Linked DNA regions of Homo sapiens: region 1 is linked to region 2. The links are contacts of gene promoters, found by promoter capture Hi-C in blood cells and fetal thymus (Javierre and others, 2016). All regions are on one chromosome and are shown on one strand. Each heading gives the region's core, a stretch centred on a gene start or on the middle of the fragment in contact. The rest is flanking DNA. Distances are from core to core; before and after follow the strand shown.

The links. The method cuts DNA at HindIII sites, captures the fragments that hold promoters and counts their contacts. A CHiCAGO score of 5 or more calls a contact.
Region 1: the fragment with the promoter of RNF8 here is called in contact with the fragment with the promoter of CPNE5 in region 2 in 4 of 17 cell types (non-activated CD4 T cells, erythroblasts, M1 macrophages and 1 more); the score reaches 7.9 in non-activated CD4 T cells.

The regions. Positions count from the first base shown.
Region 1 is chr6:37,352,091-37,356,304 of GRCh38, reverse strand. RNF8 (ring finger protein 8) reads right to left here and starts at 2,322. Exons shown (of 8, transcript NM_003958.4): 1 at 2,030-2,322. The coding sequence starts at 2,140. RefSeq lists an enhancer at 2,020-2,069 and a silencer at 2,370-2,469. The HindIII fragment of the contact is 12,469 bases long and covers 1,079-4,214 here.
Region 2 is chr6:36,836,972-36,841,122 of GRCh38, reverse strand. It overlaps CPNE5 (copine 5), which reads left to right and starts at 1,679. Exons shown (of 21, transcript NM_020939.2): 1 at 1,679-1,840. The coding sequence starts at 1,746. RefSeq lists an enhancer at 1-321 and a silencer at 1,006-1,215. The HindIII fragment of the contact is 11,867 bases long and covers 166-4,151 here.

The DNA of each region.
Region 1 (4,214 bases), core at 1,073-3,572, 510 kb before region 2:
GATTCAGACTTCTTTTCAGGCTATGCTACGACCTGACCTTGCAGGCAGCCAAGCCTGGCAGGCTTCTCCTACACACAGGTCCCTGAAGCCAGCCACAGTCTTACCACTGAGTTTATATGGGTCCCTCCCCATGCAACTGGCCCCATAAAGAACTATCAAATGGTTTAGAATATGTCTAAGACTGCTTTATAGTCTTCTTGCCCTTTCTTCAGGTGCTTTAATTCGTCCTCCCCATCCCACCTGCCCAAGACTGCAGTACTGACAAGCTATTCAGAAGTCATAAATTAATCCACAACAATTGAATCTAAAGGAATAACACTTGCCCACTGAGTTATCTTATGAGGTTGTGTGTATGCAGGGATCAGATTAAGTAATGTATGTGAAATTAACTAATAGTTATGCACAAAAATAATTTATTTTTGTGTGTATTATTCAGGTTATTATTCAGGTGTTCGTGTTTTAATTTGTTAAACTTCCCACAAACATATGCTGTTGGAAAGGGCCAGGCAGGGAAAGATCAGTGCTCAAGCTAAAAGAATGAATGCTTAATGTGGACTTTTAGGCACTAATACCTGGATAGAAGAGGTATTTGGAGGCAGAGATGTTTTCTTGGTGTTCCTCAAACCACAGCATACAAGTAACCCTTTATAACACTCCCTAATCTAGCAATTAAATTTGTGCCTAGACATGAATTCCTCCTCTGACTTGAAGAACTACTGCTCTGGGAAGGAACTAAATAATCCAAATCTTAGCACTTGATCATACAGCCCATATGGATGTTCTTTATACGATGACTGCTTCATTGTATAAATCCTCTCTCCCCACTCAAGCCTTAAACTCTTCGAGCGCAGAAATTTTATTTGTCCTCATTGTACACCAAACAATGTTAAATACTCAGTAAATACCTGGCAGACTGAATTGAGGCAGTACGGCTTATAGGAAAAATCTACCTGAACACACATGAGACTCAAAATACTTCTTGAATTTACATCATGACCAACCATCCACTTTTACTGCAAAGAGAACTTTTCATACAGATTATTTCCAAAACCCAAATGGTTCCCAGTCATCACAAGCTTGTCCCTGACCCAGTTCTCCTTCTCAACCTGATTGCAATCTAACTCCCTCCTCCCTTCCCTCGTCTTTTCAAGATGCACCACGCTGGTGCATCTTGAACCGTGCCAGGAACGGTACCTCATCTTTCCCCTTAAAATATTTTTCATTTGCAACTGCATTAATAAAGACGACAGGCAGCCTCTGGAGAGAACTCTGAATACCTGCCCGACCCACCTCAGGGAGTGCCACTCGGCCGTACCGAGCCTCACAGGAGAAATGTGGCCCAGCCCAAGCCGCCCATGTTCCTCAGAGTTGGGAAGGAGGAAGACATTTCTACGTGAAAGTTTGATTGCTTTAAGGGACAAAACCCAAAATTTGCAATCGTTTTCAAAACAAACTCGAGAAAGTTCAGGCGCCGGGCCCTGCCTCGGCTTCCCGGCAGCTCGCGGCCCCCGCCACCGTTCCCCGACCTGGCACCGCGGGGCTCTGTGCGCCCTAAACGGGATCTGGCCAGCCCCCGCCCTCCCCTCCTCGACACCCCCGCATCTCCTCACGTTCCCTGCGCGTCCCTCTCCTCCCAGTCCCCGGCCCAGCTACCCGCTGACCCAGGCCTCTCTGGACGGGGCCCGCTTCTCGCCCCACAGGCCGCGGGTCAGGGCCTCCGTCCTCGCCCCAACCCTTGTGGCCCCCCCGGGCTCCCCAGAGCCGAACTCTCTTTTCTTCCTTTCTCCCACTCGGCCCCTATTTCTCCCCCAAACACCTCCCACCGCAGACCCTTCAGCCGCTCGCGCCAGAACCGCTTTCTCCCTTCTCTCCCCAGGAATCCACCCCCCCCACAGACACTTCGCTCCTCTTCCTGATGCCCGCCTCCTCTCTGCCATTCATTCAGCCCAGCAAGACACCTTCCTCCCTCCCCGGAGCCCCGCTCCCTCCAGCCCCTGCCCTCCGCTCCACAGGACCCCTTCCCCCGTACCTCGCACCCATCTTCCAGCAGCAGCCACCCGGCGCTCATCCCCACCCGCCGCAGGCACCAGCTCCGGCCACCGGCGCGGTCTCCTGTGACGAAGAAGCCGGGCTCCCCCATCGCCTACTCGACCCCGGGGGCGGTCAGCACCGAGCGAGACCCTGACCTAGGTTCTGGCTGCCTCTGTGCATCCCCTCAGCTTCCATATCTAAATAACAGACAGAAGCAATCGCCACACGCTCGCGATCGCTGCGAAAGCAGGCTCCGCTCGCCCGCCCTCGGCCAGGAAGCAGGAGCACTACGCCTGCGCAAGAGGACGGCGGCCGCCCTGGAGCAAAGAGGGTGGGTTGGGAGCCAATCCGGCCCTGGGCGGGGCGGGCGCGATTCGAGAGGTCTCCTCGCCTCACACCTTCCCTCGCCGCCTCCAGAACCATCACCCCAGTCCTAGCCGCCCCAGACTGGAACCTCTTCTCACCTTTCCTCTTTTTAAAAAAGTCATGTGAAACTATAGCCCACTTTTAAACAACTTTAAACTTTCCATCGGATTTAAGTCTGCCTAGTCTGTTGCTAAATAGTCTCTATTTTGCACGACCTACTTATATTACCGAAGTAAAAAATAAATTACACTAGGCAAATCTACAAAGACAAAGAGCACAGTTACCTGGGGCGAGGTGTGGGAGCGGGTATTGAATGCAGATGGGCTTGAAAAAATTGGAGGAAAGCGGTAATAGAAATGTTCTAAAAGTGGATTGTGGTGACAATTGTACAACTGTATAAGTTTATTAAAAAGTCATGGAAGTGTGGCCGGACGCAGTGGCTCACGCCTGTAATCCCAGCACTTTGGGAGGTCGAGACGCGCGGATCACTTGAGTTCAGGAGTTGTGACCAACCTGGCCACATGGGGAGACACCGTATCTACAAAAAAAAAAAAAAAAAAAGGAGGAAGGGAGGGAGAGAAAGGAAAAAAGAAAAAAAAGAAAAATTAGCTAGGTGTGGTGGTGCACACCTGTAGTCCGGCTACTTGGGAGGCTGAGGTGGGAGGATCACCTGACCCCGGGAGGCAGAGGTTGCAGTGAGCCGACATGGCGCCACTGCATCCCAGCCTGGGCGACAGAGTGAGACCCTGTAAAGTGAAGAAAGTGTAAACTTCCAGTGGGTGAATTTTATGGCATGTAAATTATACTCAATAAAGCTGTTAATTTTATTATTATTATTACTGATTACAGACAGGGTCTCGCCCTGTCACCCAGGCTGGAGTGCAGCCTGGAGTGGTGCGATCTCAGCTCACTGCAACCTCCGCCTCCCGGGTTCAAGAGATTCTCCTGCCTCAGCCTCCAGAGTAGCTGGGATTACAGGCACGCGCCACCACGCCCGGCTAATTTTTATATTTTTTGGTAGATACCGGGTTTCGCCGTGTCTCCTGGATTCAAGTGATCCAACCGCCTCAGCCTCCCAAAGTGCTGAGATTACAAGCATGAGCCCCCGAGCCCGGCCAATTAAAAAATTGTTTTTAAACTCAGCCTCTCCTTTGGATTTTCCATATAGTGTGATAGCTGCTGCCTGCAGTGAGTACATCCAATGGTTGAGCCCCTTTTGTCTTTTCAGTTTTCCAACACCCAGTTAACAATTTCTTTCTTCTTTCTTTCCTTCCTTCCTTCTCTTTCTTTCTTTTCTTTTTTCTTTCTCTTTTCTTCTTTCTCTCTCTTTCTTTCTCTCCTTCCTTCCTTCCTTCCTCCCTTCTTCCTCTCTTTTTTTTTTTTTTTTGCACAAGGGGAAAGAAGGAAAACAATTTTCCTAAATAAAATTCTGTCAAAAAACCAGCCGGGCTGGGCATGGTGGCTCATGCCTGTAATCTCAGCACTTTTGAGAGGCCGAGGCAGGCGGATCACCTAAGGTTGGGAGTTCAAGACCAGCCTGACCAACATGGAGAAACACCGTCTCTACTAAAAATACAAAGTTAGCCCAGCGTGGTGGCGTGTGCCTGTAATCCCAGCCACTCAGGAGGCTGAGCCAGGAGACTCGCTTGAACCCAGGAGGCAGAGGTGGCGGTGAGCCGAGATCTCGCCATTGCACTCCAGCCTGGACAACAAGAGTGAAACTCCATCAAAACAACAACAACAAAAAAAACAAAAACAAAAACAAAAAACACACACACAGCCAAGTGTGGCGGCTCACGCCTGTAATCCCAGCACTT
Region 2 (4,151 bases), core at 430-2,929:
ATCCGGAGGAGCCCCTTATGGTCCCGCTGCCACAAACAAGGCCCAGAGAGCGCAACTCTGCCCAGCCCAGCACCAGGTTTTTGGCCTCCCCGCCGGCCCGAGGCACATCGGCTTCGATGTGCCAGGCGGTGGGCGAGGAAGTGGAGGTTCCAGCTCGGCAAAGCTTAGGCTGAGGCTGAGGATGGGCTAGAGTCAAGTCTACGTGTGCAGCCTTACTCAGGGAGACGCCTCTGCGCTGCAACCTCATGCCCGGGAGGGCAAGGCTGGGCTAGGGCGGGGGATCGCGAGGGGCTTGGCTGGGAAGAGGACTGCAGGAGAGGTGTCCCAACTCTCCCCTCGCTCGCCAGGCACACAGCACGCGCCTACTCGGTGCTGGCTGCATAGAAGCCCAGGGAGCTCGGGCCGATCTCCCAGTCTGGTTGCCACCAGACTGGGTGGCAGGAGCTTCTAGACCTGGAGGCTGGCTCAGTCGTGTGGTCACGACGGGCGGGGGAGTGGAAGGGCGCTGGCGCGTGGTTTCGGCAGCCGACTTGGCGAGGCCGCGGCTGGCGGGAACCACGGATGGGGGAGGCGCCCATGCACCGACCCCACCTGGGCCACTGGGAAACCGAGGTAGTCCCTCCTGGCACTGGGGTCGCCCCCACACACCTCCCCAGAAGGAGATGTAGGGTCTGTTTCTGAACTGAGACCCGCCCCCGAGTAGGGCGCACACTCAGCAGAGACCCTCCACACCCAAGCCCCTGGGAGGGGATCTTTTTTGCACACCTCCCTCCCACTTATGCCCCCTCTCAACCCTGCATAGACCTTTCTCAAAAAGGCGCCCGTTGGTTCCCATAACCCTCCCCCTCCCCCAGGATGGAGACCCCTGATGGGAGATAGGGGTGGTGAGAGGGGGCGGGCGCAAATGAAGATGCGCGCGACCAGGACCACCTCTTGCTGTCACCCGCCACGTCCCCAGCATCTGGACCGCGTCCCCCGGCCCGCCACGCGCGCACACACACACACACGCGCACACACACACGCTCACACTCACCCTGCGCGCAGACCCCGCCCGCGGCCCCGCCCCGGCCCCTGCGGGCGCCCCCTCTGGCGTTCCCGGGCGGCGGGAGGCTGCGGCTTCGGGCAGATTTGATTTTCCCGCAGCCCGGGCGCCCCGGAGCCGAAGCCCGAGCCGAGGAGGTGGCGCTCGCAGCCGCGTCTCAGCCCCGTCGCCGCCGGCGCCAAGACCCAGGGAGAGGCGGCGCAGCCCGGGCGCTCGGGCTCCGCGCTGCCGGCGCCCCGCCACCCCCGCCGCCAGCGCCCCATCCGGCGCCTCCCGCTCCTCACGCCCCTCTCCCTGTCTTCTGCATCCCCTCTACCTCTGCCCACAGACGCGCGTCCCTCTCCTGGTGCCCCTCTCCACGACTCCGCGTTTCCCTCCCGGTGCCCTCTCCCCGAGCCCCTCTCCCCGCGCCCCTCTCTGCCTTCCCCGCTGTGCCCCCGCTCCCTGGGCTCCTTGCCCTTCCCCACTGGGCCCCTAGCCTCCTCGCGGCGTCACCCGAGCCCCCTCCTCGATCCGCGGCCCCCGCTCCCTCCGCCCTCTTCCCTCTCTCACTTCCCACGCCCCCTCTTCGCGCTCCTCTCTCCTCCCCTTGCCGCCCAGCCCAGGCTCTGGAGTTGGGGGAGAGCCCAGGGCTCCAGTCGCTCCGGAGGAGGCGTGAATCGCGCAGGGATTGACTAATTTGGGGTGGGGGGTGCGGTGGGCGATGGAGCAGCCTGAGGACATGGCGTCGCTGAGCGAGTTCGACTCCTTGGCGGGCAGCATCCCGGCCACCAAGGTGGAGATCACCGTGTCCTGCAGGTGAGCCTCCCGCTGGCCGGGTCCCCTTGCCCCGGCCCTGGACGCAGAGCCCCGCGGCCCCTGCCGCTTCGATCCTAAACCTCCGCGCGCCCCCTTCCCAGAGTGTCCTGGTCTCCAGGACTGCGCCCCTGCCGATCTGCCAAGAGCCCCTGTCCTGTCCAGCTGCGGGTGGCGACGGCAGAATAGGAAGCCAGGCTGGGGTCATATCCCAGAAAGTTTGCGCTCCAGGCTGTTGCATCGAGGAGATATGAAGACACAGGAACAGGGGGTCCAGGCACCCAAGTGGGGAGAGGGAGTTGGTAAAAGGCTGTACTACGGTCTCTGCTCAGGCTATCTCTGATCACCCCATCCCCAAATCACGAAGTGAGTGATTTGCCCCCATCCCTCCCAGGCTCGTCCACCCTCTCCCTTCTGTGCCCTCCTCTCTTCTCTCTTTGCCCCTTCTTTGCCCCAGCATCCTGATCCTCCCCTCACCAGTCTCCCCCACCCCACTGTCCTAGACTCTAGGATTTTAAAGCCTTCCTTCATCTCTATCAACAACGAAATCGACTCCTGGAAAAGGATCAGATTGACTCATTCATACTAAGGTGTGGATACATGATAACAACTTAAAGTGGCACCATTAAAAAAATAACTTGGGTCAAAAATCTTAAGCCAAAGGAATAGAACACTGATTGTGAAACTGTAGAGTCCAACAGAGGAGGAGGGGGAATATTTTTGTGGGCTACCACGCCCAAATCTTCACTCATGTCACACAGGGTTTGGGGGTAACTTCTCTGTCTAAGAGCTGGGTCGACCCCAGGTTCTCCTAGCTAGGGGAAGGCTGCCCCTGGCAGTAAGAGGGTATGGGTGGCAAAGGGGGATTTTTCCCTAGTTCAGTCTCTCTGTGGCTGGCCTAGGATCATGTGCTGCCACGCAAGCATCACCCACTTTGAGGTTCCCCCACAGAGGCCATGCCCCCTGCCCCAGATCACCGACAGCATTTCTGGAGCCCTGGCTGTGCCCTTGTTCGAAATCACCCATCTCATCCTCTTCCAGGTTGCTCCTTGGTCAGACCCTCCATGAGAGGTAACCTTGTTGCCCCCCAGTCCTGTATTACAAAGTTGTGGCATTGATGAGGTGTAGGTAGAGCTGGAGAGTCTGGGCAGGGGCGTGAAGGAGGGAAGGACTCAGTGTGACTTTCTCTTGAAGACTTGGGGATAAGTGGCAGTGAAGGCTAGTCTGGTTGAACGTAGCTTCCCCCCTAAGCCAGGCCCTCTGGGGGCTCCTGTGATAGCTCCCAGGTCCCATACACCATGCCGTCAGGATCATCTCCCAACGCCATTTGCATCTTGTCATTACTCTGCTGGGAGATTCCTGATGGCCCATTAGCTCCAGTCTCACCTCCTCAGCCATCAAAAGCAGCACGGCCTCCCCACCCTTCTCCTGCACGCACATCCCTGCGCCTGGCACTCCCTCCCAGCCTTCAATCATGCCTGTCATCTTCAGTTGTCTTGGGATCCTTCCCACCTCCAAGCCTCTGAACAGCCCATTCCCCATCCAGATTTCACTCTTCCTTTATCTCCCCAAGTTCATGATCCCCCCACTCCTGAAAAGCCTGGCCTCACGCTCCCCACTTTCAGGCATCCTCTCACCCATGAGACACACAGCTCAAATCATTGTCTTCTGTGTCCCGTGGGCCCTAGGTACTCAGCCTGGGCCACAGGGTCACTCACATACTGAGGATGAAACCTCTTGAGACGTCTCAGGTGTGCAGACGTCATCCCTCCCCTCTCAAAGCAACTGTGTAAGCATTTGAGGGCAGGGATTCCCACCCTGAGTCAGACCCATGCACCCTCTACTCCAGTGGAGAGGAAAGGAGATGGAGGGCAGATAGTGTGGCTTTGGAGTCAGATACCTTGAAACAGAATCTCTGCTTCACCACTTGGGGCAAATTTTAAGCCTCAGTTTCCCCCACCTGTCAGGTACAAACAATAAGCAGCATGTACTCATGGAGAAACCTTGTTCACCAAGGTAGCTCATGTGCTTAGAGCAGTGCCTGGCACTTGCCAAATACTGTTGGAGGAATTAACTTGCAGGAGTGGAGGAGCATGAAGCACCTAGCAAGCTACTTTGCACTTGCTTGGCACACAGTAGGTGCTCAATAAGTAGCTACAATGATCACCGGAAGGCGGTAGCACCTGGCCCCTCCTGTTTGCTTTCTGGAAGTAAAGATGTCCAAAGGACTCAAACCTCTTGCATAAGAGGCCTTCCTGGGGGATGTGGTTCTGGGGCTGACCCTGGGTCAATACCCTTTTGGGGGACATGATCC